Regions from separate parts of the Homo sapiens genome. Here region 1 is linked to region 2. The links are contacts of gene promoters, found by promoter capture Hi-C in blood cells and fetal thymus (Javierre and others, 2016). All regions are on one chromosome and are shown on one strand. The core of a region is centred on a gene start or on the middle of the fragment in contact, and the rest is flanking DNA. Distances in the headings are between cores, read along the strand shown.

Region 1 (6,667 bases), core at 1,727-4,226, 470 kb before region 2:
TGACTAAACTTGGGACTGTAGTTTCTGTGTCCTTCTGTTTTGCCCCTGCACGTGGCAATGCGAGACCGCTGCTCCTCTCCCCTCCACCTGCCTCGGTCTGGGCCCTTCCCTCACCTCCCTGCCTATAGTCTTGCCTCCTGGGTCCATCTTCCTCATTGCAGATGGGTGCTCTGAGTCACCAACCAGACCTTCAGTCTCCACCTTCCTCAGTCTACCACGGGTCTCTCGCACCCCACACACCCCACCTGCCGGCTCCCATTTCAGGCAAGTGCTCTGGGCCCTCTCAGCTGCCAAGCGAGCCCTTGTGCCCTGGACCATCTCGGCACAGAACATGCCGTGTCACATACGCTTACTGATCCATTTTTCTGAAAGTAACCTTGAGGGTCTTTCACATGAAAACCACCAGCTGGGCGCTCTAGGAGAGGGGTGATGTTTGAGACGCCCCCTGCCTAGGACCCATTTCCCTGTTCTGTTCCTGGTGAAACCCTTCTTACCCTTCCAGGCTTGGCTTAGATGTCACCTTAACGGTAACTCTTCCTAGTGCCCAGAGAGGGCAGAGGGCACTGGGTGACAGAGCCCCTGAAGGCCCACCCCCGGCCATGCCATCTCGAGTGTCCCCTGCTCACCTGTAGCGTGTCCCCAAAGGAGAGCTTGTGGATGACATGCGTCATGTCTGGGTTCTGTGGCTGGGCTGTGGCACTGTGTGTGGACACGTGGAAGTTGCCGGGGACCTGGGGGAGAAATGTGAGTTTCAGGAGTTTGGTTGACTTCTCCAGGGGGCGGAACATTGGGGCCTCACCCTGTGTGATCCAGGGAGGACACTGGAATCAGGCAGATCTGGGTTTGGATCCTGCTTGTATCATTTTCAACTGTGCAAAGGAGTCACCCCATCTCTCTGGGCCTCAGGCTCCTCATCTGCAGAATGGGGGCACTACCATAGCTTCCGAGGGGGCTGCCAGGACTATCTGGTGAGAGGGTGCATGTGAAGTGCCCATCTGGGCGACGGGCACAAAGCCAGGACTCATGGCAGCTGCTCCCCCTCCAGCTCTGTGGATTCTGGGCGGCTGACCCCACAGTCAGCTGGGGGATGACCTTTGAGCTTGCAGACTAATGGGGATTCCTCAGACTCCAAACCCCTATCATTTCCTACCCAAGTTTGCCCCAGTGCCCTAGACGGGGGATCCCTGATGGACAGACTGTGGTAGCCTCATCTCTTCCCTGGGTCTCAAGCCCTCGCAGAGCCAAGCCAGCAAGAGGTGCTGGATGAGTATTTACAGAACAAAGGATGCTGGTGACAACCATGTGGCAGGAGCCACTGCAGCTTCTCCTTGTTTCAGCACGAAGTCCCTCCTCCTCCCCCTCCTCCCCCTCCTCCTCCCAGATGCTTAGACTAGAACCCTTAGTATGATCCTGGAACCCTCCTCCTCCTCCCAGATGCTCAGACTAGAACCCTTGGTATGATCCTGGAACCCTCCTCCCTCCTCCCAGATGCTCAGACTAGAACCCTTGGTATGATCCTGGAACCCTCCTCCTCCTCCTCCTCCCAGATGCTCAGACTAGAACCCTTGGTATGATCCTGGAACCCTCCTCCTCCTCCTCCTCCCAGATGCTCAGACTAGAACCCTTGGTATGATCCTGGAACCCTCCTCCTCCTCCTCCTCCTAGATGCTCAGACTAGAACCCTTGGTATGATCCTGGAACCCCCCTTTCTCACTCCCGACGTCCCATCCATCAGCTGAAACCCTGTTAGCTCCACCTTCCAAACACACCTGGCGCCTGACCTCTTCTCTGCTGCCCTGGTCCAAGGTCGTCTCTTCATGGACAACAATGGCAGGCTCCTCCCTGGGCTCCCAGCTTCCATGTTCCCCACAGCCTGGGCCTTTTCCCAATAATGACTGTTAAGATCTTTTTAAACCCTACATCAGATCTCATCACTCCTCTGCCCAGAACCCTCCACGGCTTCTATTCTCTCAGAGTCCAGGTCCATGTCCTCGTGGTGGCCCACAGGCCACATCTGGCCGCTGGCCAAGCATCGTGTCCCCACCGCTTGGCCTCCTGCTGCTGTGTCCTCTGCTGCTTCCTGTCTGGTCTCCTGCCGTGCCGGGAACAGCATCCAGTGTGGCCCCATTTTAGGCCTTTGTGCCTGCACCCCTTCCTGGGACCCTCTTCCACATGGCCCTCCCTCGGACCCTCAGGGCCCAACAGAGAGGCCCTCCACGTCCACCTGTGCAAAAGAGCACCCTGGCCCCCATTCCCCATCCCCTTACCTGCTACAGCCTCTGGGATCACCTGCCATCTCATACCCATCCTGTTCTCGTCTGCCTCCTCCCATTAGCATGTCCACGCCCTGCTGTGCTCCCCAGACTCCGACACATAGCAGGTGCTCAATAGACACTTTTTGAATGAATGAATGACTAAACAAACAACACTGAATCCTTTGACTTTGTCATCTGATAATTCCCATTTTACAGAAAAGAAAATGGAGGCTCAGAGCAGTGAAGAAACTTGCTAAGGTCACATGTCGAGAGCTGCAGTCTCAGCTCACGTCTGTTGGACGCACTGCTCCCTCCTCTGATGCCTGGATGCCATCTACCTCCGCAGCCTGGGCTGATGGCCACATGGCGCCAGTCCTTCAGGAGATGCCGGAACTGGGGAGATGAGCAGACAAGAATCTGGCCTTGGCCAAGCCCCTGTGACACAGACTTGGAACAGACAATGAGACTCTGTGGGATCCACCCTGGCCCAGAGGAATTTGCAGACCATGGGGGTTACAGGGAAGGCCCCCGGCTCAATTGAGGGTGCAGGCTGTATTCAGGGAGGGCTTCCCAGGGGGAAGGACATCCTGTGTTAAGGCTCTGAAGATGAGTCTGCATTACTCAGGAAGAGAGCGAAAGGCATCTGGGCAGAGGGAACAGCATGAACAGGTGCAGAGGACAGAAACTTCCCAGCATGTGGGCTGTCTAAGGAACTAAGAGTCTGGTATTATTGAACTCCAAATGAGACGGAGGTGGCGGTGCTGGCAGCAGCAGGAAACAAAGAGGCACAAGGGAGGAGTTGGGGCTGTTTATCAAAGGTCCCCAGATGCCACACTGAAAAACTCGGGGGTTACCTTATTCCAGCCCAATGAAGAAGACTGTGCGAGCTGTGTCCGAGGAGGGAATATAGCTTATCGTGCAGCAGCCCATCAAAGTCTGATTTTGTAAGCATGTCTGTTTCAAACACAAAGTTGGGGACTTCCTGCAGGAATATTCCTACTTCAGCAGGGCCCGAGCTTGTGGCTGACAGGGGAGGCATCAAGCTGACAGCCTGTAGCCTCGGCCTCAGCAAACTCGCAGTGGAGCGAGCTGCAGGCTACAGTGGAGAAGGGACACTTGCTGGGTCAGGAGTGGAGCAGAAACAAAGGCGTGGCAAGATCTCCCTCGAGGGACAGCATCGCCTGCTTCAGGGACCCAATAACCCATAGTAGAGCGGTTGCTCTGAGTTCTACACTTGGCCCCAAGCCCAGCCCCACTTCCTAGCTGGGGAGCCTTAGGCGAGGTCAGTAACCACTCCATGCCTCAGTTTCTCCATCAGCGAAATGGGCGTAAAGCCAGAAGATTACTGGGAGGATTCATTGAGGTGATGCATACAAAGCAGCCCGCAGCTGGCCTCAGATCGGGTTTGTAGGGTGAACATGTTTGTCATCGGAGCCAACCAAGAAGGGCCCTCCCGGAAGAGGGAACACTCACAGGCAGGGCGTGAGGAAAAGCCCACTGTGGGTTTTAACATTTATGCCTCATTTTCACCGATAAAAATAATGCCTGGGTACATTTTCATGATAAAACAGTCATGAGACACAGTCAGACTAAAGACCCTGTTGCTGACCACCCCTGGGAGTAAGAAACCCACAGCCATAAGGCGTGTGTCCTCCCAGAGGTTTTCTACGCAGTGACACAGGGCCTTCCGCAGATCGGGCCATGGCAGAGTTCAGAACTGGGATTGGGGCCTGGGCCGCGTGCTCCGGGAGTGAAGTGAGTCAAGAAGGCTGTCCCCTCAGCACCTGCCACCCCTGCCGGGCCGTGCGAGGCTGTGACTCAGGAACCCACTCCCCCTCCACACCAAATCCATCACAGGTGGCTGACTCATGCCAGCACATGCTGGGCTGAAGAAAGAAACAGCAACGCTTTTAGAGCCTGTGACTTAGGAACCTACGTCAGTGTCTCTGATGGATTTTAAAAACATATAGCTGGAGCCAGGCCCCATACCCCTCACCCCATCCTGTCCTCCTCCTGCGGGGCTGGCTGATGAAACGAGGTCACCGTGGGGTCTCTGGTGAGGCTGCCGCTGCTGCTCAAAACACGCAAACTCTGACATCTGGCTGCTGGTCAACTTCCTGGGGGTCGGATAAGGAGGCCATGGGACAAGTCTCAGCCTGATGCTGGGAGAGAGGTGCGGGGGCTGGCTGCTGACCTTGCCATCACAGCACATGGACCCTGGTGGCTTCTTTGAGCACCTCTTGATGGGCGGTTCCTCAAAGGGAAAGTGGCTGGGCTGGGGTGGGGGACGGTCTCTACTCCCTCCAGGAGTATGGGGCAGAGGGTGCCCTAGGCTGTGACCTGGGGCACACAGACACAGCTGGTCATGACATGTGTAACCAAGATGTTGGGAGAAGCAGCCACAGGCAGTGAGCTCAGAGGGCCAGGGCCCTGGTGCTAGGCTGCCTGTGTTAAAATCCTGGCTGCGTGACCTTGACCAGGTCACTTAACCTCCTGTGCCTCAGTTTCCTCCAGGCTACTGTGAGGACTAAAGGAGCTAATATGTGGAAAGGGCTGGGTAAGAACCTAGTACGTGGCAGCCATAACGCGGGTCTAAGAAAGGCTGGTGTGAGCCTTTCAAAGACTCCCTGGCACTCCCCTGACCAGAGAAGGCCCATTTCTTGGACGCCCTCCATGTGCCTTCCACAGGCGCACTTGTAAGGTGGGTGCCAGCTGATGAGGTCATGGAAACTTTGCACTGACGGGAGATGAGGCAGGCCAGGATGCTTGTCCAGTCTCTACTGCAGAGTTTGTTCATGTTTCACAGCCTGTGAGGTATTATTATCCCCATTCTACAGATGAGGAACCTGAGGCTCAGAGAAGCTAAACTGCCCAGAGTCATTCAACCAGTGACCATGGTAGCCGGGATCCTTGACCACAGGTCTGTCTGACCCCAAAGGACAAGTTCACCCAGAGCTGGCTGGGGGCTCCAGCACAGCCCATTCTAAGGGGAGCAGACTGCAGTCTTGGGCGTGTTTGCCAAGAGGTGGGAGGGCTTGGTGGCAGGGCTGTCTCGTGGGTTGTCACTCCAGGTGCTTGAATAAGCACGATCCCTTCTTGGTCACCATCTGGGGTACATATATTTTTTCAGCCCAGGTGGTTGCATCTCCCCGGGGGCGGGGGGCCCACAGTGAGGAGGTGTGCGTGTACGTCTGTTCATCTGTGCATCTTCATCTTCAGTCTTCAGACAGGGCTTCCTTTGTAACCTCAGGGGTCTCCTCCTTCATTCTCCACCACAGCACCCCGTCATTCTCTTCACGGCTGCTTTATCAAAATCACATATTTCCTGTTTACCTGAGCACTGGCTGTCCCCCCGTTATAGAACATGGGCCACCAACGGCGGGGAGCATGGCTGTTTCTCTCCCATTGCAGCCCAGCGCCAAGCACAGAGCCAGGCGTGAGGTGGATGCTCAATAGCACGAAAGCCTGAGTGGAGTGGTCAAAGGGAGAGGCCAAGTCAAGGAGGAGGCACAGGCAGCAGCCGCAGCGTGATGAGGGGCGTGGTGGGGAGTGAATGTGGGTGGGCAGGGAAGGGGAGGGAGGACTTCCCCTGAGGGACCCACATCAGCTGAGGCCTGTGGGTGAGTAGTGGTTCCCCAAGAGGATGAGGTGGGGACAGAGGGAGGGTATGGAGGCCCAGCAGAGGTCCCCCACCAACCCCCCACCTGCCTGCCGGCACTGTGAACCTCTCCAAGGCCTTAAACCCCCAACTGTGGCCTGCGTCTGGCTCCCATTGCTTCGTAAGGACGTGGCTCCTGCAGCGGCCCCTTCTCTCCTCATCATCAGCGTTTTCTGGAGCACTCTCTGCAGCACTTAGATCACTGTCCATTCCAAGCCTGCCTTCCTGAGCCTGGTAGCGCCAGCCCTGCTCTTTGATATCTATACATATGTTCTTTTCCAGGCTGCAGGTTCCGCCCAGCCTTTGCTTCCTCCTTCCTGTTCGACTGCCCCTTCTTGCACCTTTTGTTACCCCCGCATCTCCCCACCTCGAAGTGACTGGGCGGGGCGCCAGAACTCAGTCCTCAAACTGCAATTCTCTCCAGACCTTAGGTTCTTAAGGCTTTTGGTGCCACGGATGATCCTTTGCCAGTCTAATGATACCTACGTTTTAAATGCTTAAAATGTTTTAATGCGTAAAATGCATAGGATTACAAAGTAAAGAGATATTTAAATAGTAATTAAAATATTTAAAAATCCACATTTGAATATGCTGCTTTACTGATGCATCAAATAAGATGACCTAGTGGTGGGTCTAATAATTACTGTAATTTTTATTGACTGATTGATTAAGGGTTTCACTCTGTCACCCAGGCTGGAGTGTGGTGGTGCGATCTCAGCTCACTGAAGCCTCTACCTCCCTGGGCTCAGAAGAC
Region 2 (6,507 bases), core at 3,581-6,080:
TTAATGTCCCTGAGGACTTAGGTTAGAGTTCATGAGATAGAGATGAGTTCATTCAGCCCACAGCATCTCTTTGGGGCCTCTCTTTGCTAATTCTGTGCCAAAGGTGGGAAACTTGAGACAAATAAGGCCATTCCGGCTCCTTGGGAGCTTGGAGTCTGGCAAAGGAGTTGGATATTAAGAAAACAATCACAGCCCAGAATGACAGCTGGGACAAGGCACAGTGGCAGCTGGGTGGGGGGGAGACAATTACCCATCTGGGAGTCAGGGCTTCCTACAGGAAGTGATATTAGTGACATTCAGTATGGACTTTGAAGGCTGAATGAGAGTTCACCAGCAGACAAGGTGGGGAAATGAGCAGCTTATGCCAAGGCATGTCGGTGATGTTACCGGAAAAGGTCTCGATTAAAACCTCAAGAGAGGGTTCTTGGACCTCATGCAAGAAATAATTTGGGGCAAGTCCATAGAATAAAGTGAAAGCAAGTTGATTAAGATAGTAAAGGAATAAAGAATGGCTACCCCATAGGCAGAGCCCTGGCATGGGATGCTCGAGTCTAAGTATATTTATGGTTATTTCTTGATCACGTGCTAAACAAGGGGTGGATTATTCACGAGTTTTCTAAGAAAGGGGCAGGGATTTCTGGAACGAAGGGTCCCTCCTCTTTTTAGACTATATAGAGTCTAAAAGGAATCCTTGTCCAAACCTAAGGGAGAACTCGAATGGAAGAGAAATCCCACTTGGAATCCTATTTGAATTCCAAGTGGGATTTCTCTTCCATTCGAGTTCTCCCTTAGGTTTGGGCTCCCTGATGAACTCGAATTTGCAGAAGTGTTTTGTGTTTGTGACAAGGAACTAGTCCAGTTCCAGTGAATTGTAGTGACCATCTGGGTTGAGATTTTTATCAGCAGATAATCTGCAGTTCTCCCAAGCAGAGCCTAAATGGATCTTTCCAGTCTGAACAGCCAGCCTAAACTGCATCACCAGCCCACAATTCAGTTCTCCAAAAACTATGGTGGACACTCAGAAAAGCCCAAGTTGTCTAGGAGGTAAATGGGTGATATAGAAAGGTAAGAAGAAAAAAACCAATAACACAATTTTAAAATGCACAAAGGACTTGAATAGACACTTCTCCAAAGAAGATAAACAAATGGCCAACAAGCACATGAAAAGATGCTGAACATCACTCATCATTAGAGGAATGCAAATCGAAACCACAATGAGATTCCATTTCACATCCATTAGAATGGTTATTATCAAAAACAAATGAACGAATAAAGAAATAAAAACAGGCCAGACACAGTGGCTCATGCCTGTAATCCCAGCACTTTGGGAGGCCAATGCAGGAAGATCACTTGAGGCCAGAAGTCCAAAACCAGACTGGTCAACATAGTGAGATTCTGTCTCTACAAAAGGAAAATTTTAAAAATAGCCAGATGTGCTGGTGGGTGCCTATAGTCCCAGCTACCAGGGAGGCGGAGGCAGAGGATCCCTTGAGCCCAGGAGATCAAGGCTGCAGTAAGCCATGATCAAAATCACTGCACTCCAGCCTGGGTGACAGGATGAGACCCTGTCTCTTAAAAAACAAAACAAGGCCGGGGGCGGTGGCTCATGCCTGTAATCCCAGCACTTTGGGAGGTTGAGGGGGGTGGATCACCTGAGGTCAGGAGTTTGAGACCAGCCTGACCAATAGGGTGAAACCCCATCTCTACTAAAAATACAAAAATTAGCCAGGCATGGCGGGCGCCTATAGTCCCAGCTACTCGGGAGGCTGAGACAGGAGAACTGCTTGAACCCAGGAGGCAGGGGTTACAGTGAGCTGAGATTGCGTCACTGCACTCCAGCCTGGGAGACAGAGCAAGACTCTTTCTCAAACAAAACAAAACAAAACAAAACAAACAAACAAAACAGATAATAACAAGTGTTGGCAAGGATGTAGAGAAATTGGAACCTTTGTGCATTGCTGAGGGAATGCGAAATGCCACAGCCCCTGTGGAAGACAGTTTAGGGGCTCCTCAAAAAAAAATTAAACATAGAAGTATCACATGATCCAGCAATTCCATTTCTTGGTATATGCACAAAAGAATTGAAACCAGGGACTTGAACAGATATTTTTATACCAATGTTCACAGCAGCATTATTCAGAATAGCCAAAAGATGAAAACAACCCAAGTGACTGTTGACAGATGAATGGATAAAGAAAAAGTGCTATATACATATAATGGAATATTATTCAGCCATAAAAAGGAAATTCTGACACATGCTACAACATGGATGAGCTTTGAGGACATTATGCCGAGTGAAATAAGCCAGACACAAAAAGACAAACATTGTGTGTTTCCACTCATATGAAGTACCTAGCATAGTCAAACTCATAGAGATGGAAAGTAGAACAATGGTTGCCAAGGCCTGGAGGAGGTTGGGGGGCAGTGGGGGGGGACTCAGTGTTTAATAGGGACAGAGCTCCAGTTTAGGAAGATGAGAAAGTTCTGGAGAGGGATGGTGGTGACAGTTGCACAACAATGTGAGTGTACTTAATGCCACTCAACTGTATGCTTTAAACATGGTTGAAATGTTAAATTTTATGTTATGTATTTTTTACTACAATAAAAAAGTAAAACAAAGGAAAGATACGTAAAGATGCAGGGATAGCATCTTCTGCTACTGGTGGTTGTGGGGGGACCTTTGTCTTCCCCAGACAGAGGAGACGGACACAGCCAGCAGGACCCACCTCTGCCACCCATGGTGTGGCTGGGGGCAGGTCTCTCTGCCTCTCCGGAAAAACCCAGGAAGCTGGCTGATTCAGAGAGGGCCTCTAGCTTCTGCCTTCTTAGGAAGGCTTGGCTCCTAATAAGGCAATGCACGATGTGGCAGGGACGGAAAAGCAGACCTTCACTTCTTTGGACATTTCCAATGAGGCCTCAGGACCCTCTGGCTTGGGACTGTACTTCAGAAGAATGTGCCTTACAGGAATTACATGAGTGAGGGTCCTGGCACCGAACAGATGCCACCCTCAAGCTGGGTCCATGAAGACAGTTTAGTAAAGGGTCAATGTATACGGGTGTGGGCGGGGCTAAGGAAGCACCGAGGATGGCGTAGTACCCAGGGCTTGCAACAGCAAGACTGTCACTGTCCTGAGCAGAAAAGTGGCTTCAGGAACCCTGAGAGAGACCATGTGAGAAAGGGCACCTTTGGTAAAAACAATCGGGGAGGAGGGGCTTAGGGATTAAATACCCAGACCTCCCTCTCTCCTCTTGCCCTCAATCTCCTGCCAGGCCCTTCCACTGGCCAAGCCAAACAGGAAGACCAGGACAGAGAGCTGTCAGTGAAATCCACACAGGCCAGCCTCTGGGGCTGGAGCAGGATGGTAAAGTCTGGCAAGGAAGTCAGAGGAGCAAATGGAGGGGCGGATCCAAAGTGAATCAGCCCAAATCATCCACGTGGCCTGGCCGAGGCTGAGAGCCGTCCTACCCTGGATAAGCCCACCCTTTTCCAAAGGCTGATCCTGGACCGGGGTGGGAAGTAGCTCTGTCGTGGCATGGAGAAGAGTCGTACGGTTTGTTGAAAAGAGCCCCCACTTACTGGCTGTGAAAACACTGGCCAGGAGCCTAAACCTCCCATCCATGCATTATATATTCATTTATCCATTCATTCAGCCAACATCTCCTGAAAGTGACTCAGTGCCCAGCCAGTGCTAGGAGGCACTAGATGAAGAAACGAGGAGCTGCCCCAGCCACGGCAGCTTCAACGTGTGAGATCCACCTAGAGCCAGGCAGTGACGGGCTCCATCCACCGGCTCCCTGACTCTGGACCTTCACTGATGTAATTCCTGTAAGGCACATTCTTCTGAAGTACAGTTCCCAAGTCAGAGGGTCCTCAGGCCTCATTGGAAATGTCCAAATGTCTGGAGGCCGTCCTCTGTAAAAACACCTTTTCCTCCTAGAGTCTGCCTGAGGATGCAAAGACAGCATTTGTGAAAAGCAGGGGCCACGGGGCCCAGCGAGCAGTTAAGTGCTCCGCAACTGGAAATCGATGGCCTTGCTAACAAGCACCCAGCTGCCCCTCACACATAGTCACCACCCTTTTATCCCCTTTTGTTGCTTCCATGGCAATTACATTGCACGTATGCGCATTTGTTGCAGTTTTTCTCTCCCTCACTCCCCATGTCCCAGACTGAGGCTGGGGGAACCTGGTCACGGGTCTCTTGCTCCTCCTGAATCACCAGGGCTTGGGGTGGCTTTAGGAACGCCAGCACTCATACCATGGACTGCACTGCGGAATGGCTTCACATGCACTTAATCCCGGGCGCAGCACCGGCAGGCAGGCGGTACTACTGACACGTGCTACAACATGGATGAGCCTTGAGGACATTATGCCGAGTGAAATAAGCCAGACACAAAAAGACAAACATGGTGCTTGTACTACTAGGCTCATATTATAGACGAAGAGACCCAACCCAGAGAGGTTAAGCAACTTGCCGAGGGCACAGAGTGGAAAAGCGGCAAAGCCGGGATTCGAACCCGGGTGTCCGGCTCTCCAAACTGGCGGTGGATGGCGGCTGCCGGAGCGAGAGTGCTGGAATGAATCGATACGTCAATCAGTGAACGGGCGACGGGGTCAGTCCAGTCCCCTCCCCCGGCGCGGCGGCTCAGCACCGGGACAAAGGCCGGGCGGGGGCCGGACGTGGCCGGCGGGGTTCGCGCGCGGTGGGCGGGGGTCGGGGCCGGGCCCTTTAAGGGGGGCGGGCCGGCGGCGCGGGGGGCGGTGCGGGGGGCGGTGCGGGGGGCGGTGCGGGGGGCGGGCCGGGGGCGGGCGGCGGCGGCTGGGCCCGGCTGGAGTGCGCGCCGAGCGAAGGGCGGCGGCGGTGGCGGCGGCGGCTCGTGCTCGGCCCCGGCTGCGATTGCGCTCAGCTCCAGGTTCCCTGCCCGCGGCGGCGCGCCCCCAGCGCTCCCTGCACCCCGCGCCACCCGCACCCGCGCTCGGCCCGCTGCGGGCGGAGGAGCGGCCATGCCGCCGCGGCGCAGCATCGTGGAGGTGAAGGTGCTAGACGTGCAGAAGCGGCGGGTGCCCAACAAGCATTATGTGAGTGCGGCGCGGCCCCCACGCCCCCTTGAGCCCGCGCCCCGTCGGGGGCGACCGAGGGCCCCCGGCTTGGAAAACTTCTGCCTCCAGCGCTTCCCGTCCCCTCCTCCCCTGCTCTCCCCTCGGCTCTGCGGCGGCGCTGCCCGGGTCCCTCCCGACTCCTCCTCCCTCCCTCCCCTCCCCTCCCCGCTTTTGCCTCGTTCTCCCCCTCCATCCCTTCCTCCCGCCTCGCCCCCCTACTCGCCTCCCTGCGGCTCCTCTACCCCTTTCTGTCTTCTCCGTGTCCCCCCAACTCCCGTCCTGCTCATCTGTGGAAAAGTCTGGCTCCAGCCGGTGAGGGGTCTGAGACAGAAAGCGGGAGAGACAGAAGTGCCTGTTCTCAGGCCGCCCGCCTTGCCCCTCCTTGTCCAGAGGCGCGCAGACCCGCAGTCCCCAGCCACAGGTAGCCCCTCTAGGGTTCGCCGAATTTGACTCCGTTCTTTGGCAAGAGCCGGCCTGGGCGATGGAGGAGATCTCTGGGAATGGATCATTTGAGTGGCTACGCCTTTAAAGGGTTAAAAACATCCCCTGCCCCCTCTCTCCAGTAACTTCTGTTTTAAAATGTACGAAAGTTTTCTCCTGGCATCTCCCTCTGGAACATGGGAATCTTGTTTGGAGCTGGCAAGGACTTGAGAAAATGGGACAGTAGCGTCGTTTTGCAGATAGGAAGGCTGAGGCTCAGAGGTTGCAGGTCCTGGAACATAGAGCTGCATTCGGGCTTCCCTCCCTCCAGCAGGGGTGCCTGGGGCTGACGGTGACCTGCAGGTGGAAAGTGGCTTCCGCAGCAACCTAGGGGACACGTCTGCAGATTCAGGAGGCCCTGGGACCACCTCGCAGGTTCTAGGTGGAGATAAAGGGGATGTGGGGTGATGGGCCCACATGAGGCCTTGGGGAGGGCCTCATTACAGCAGGGAAGGGGGCTATAGTGTCTCTGGCGGTGAGAAGTGGGCAGTGGCGGAGCCTGGCTGCAGAGAAGTTAACCAGGAAGGGAAAAAGAGTAAGAGGGAGGGAAAAAATCCTAACAAAGAAGTATAGAACAATGAATAGAAAAGGGCGTTGGCTGGCTAAATTAAGCTCCTTGGCCTCCCTGGAAGTCGTCTTCAGATCTTTTTTTTTTAAGAACTAATTCTTACAAAGTAGATCTGCATGCCTTCCGTGAATAGCCTGTGAAATTCTGAAAGGAGATAGCCGGGAACCCACTCCGCGCTCTCCACAAGAAAGGGTGTGCTGTGTGAGTCTGTATTGTTATTGGCTGGGCAGCCAGTTATTCAGCCCTTAGCCAGGCGGTGGGAAGCTATTTCCTGGACCTGTGGCATCTTTATATAGAGTGAAGTTTCCCTTGATTCCAGAGCTGAGCTAAATTGTCTTTTTTTTTTCCTTCCTTTTTTTAT

Evidence for each region. The method cuts DNA at HindIII sites, captures the fragments that hold promoters and counts their contacts. A CHiCAGO score of 5 or more calls a contact.
Region 1: a fragment that was not itself captured here is called in contact with the fragment with the promoter of SH3PXD2B in region 2 in 2 of 17 cell types (monocytes and naive CD8 T cells); the score reaches 5.2 in monocytes.

The regions. Positions count from the first base shown.
Region 1 is chr5:172,918,069-172,924,735 of GRCh38, reverse strand. It overlaps ERGIC1 (endoplasmic reticulum-golgi intermediate compartment 1), which reads right to left. Exons shown (of 10, transcript NM_001031711.3): 6 at 627-731. Among named protein-coding and RNA genes, the nearest start is that of MIR10523, 6.3 kb to the right of the region's middle. RefSeq lists enhancers at 3,876-4,520, 5,849-6,350. The HindIII fragment of the contact is 9,131 bases long and covers 1-6,667 here.
Region 2 is chr5:172,452,848-172,459,354 of GRCh38, reverse strand. It overlaps SH3PXD2B (SH3 and PX domains 2B), which reads left to right and starts at 4,830. Exons shown (of 13, transcript NM_001017995.3): 1 at 4,830-5,077. The coding sequence starts at 5,003. RefSeq lists an enhancer at 5,343-5,864. The HindIII fragment of the contact is 9,231 bases long and covers 1-6,507 here.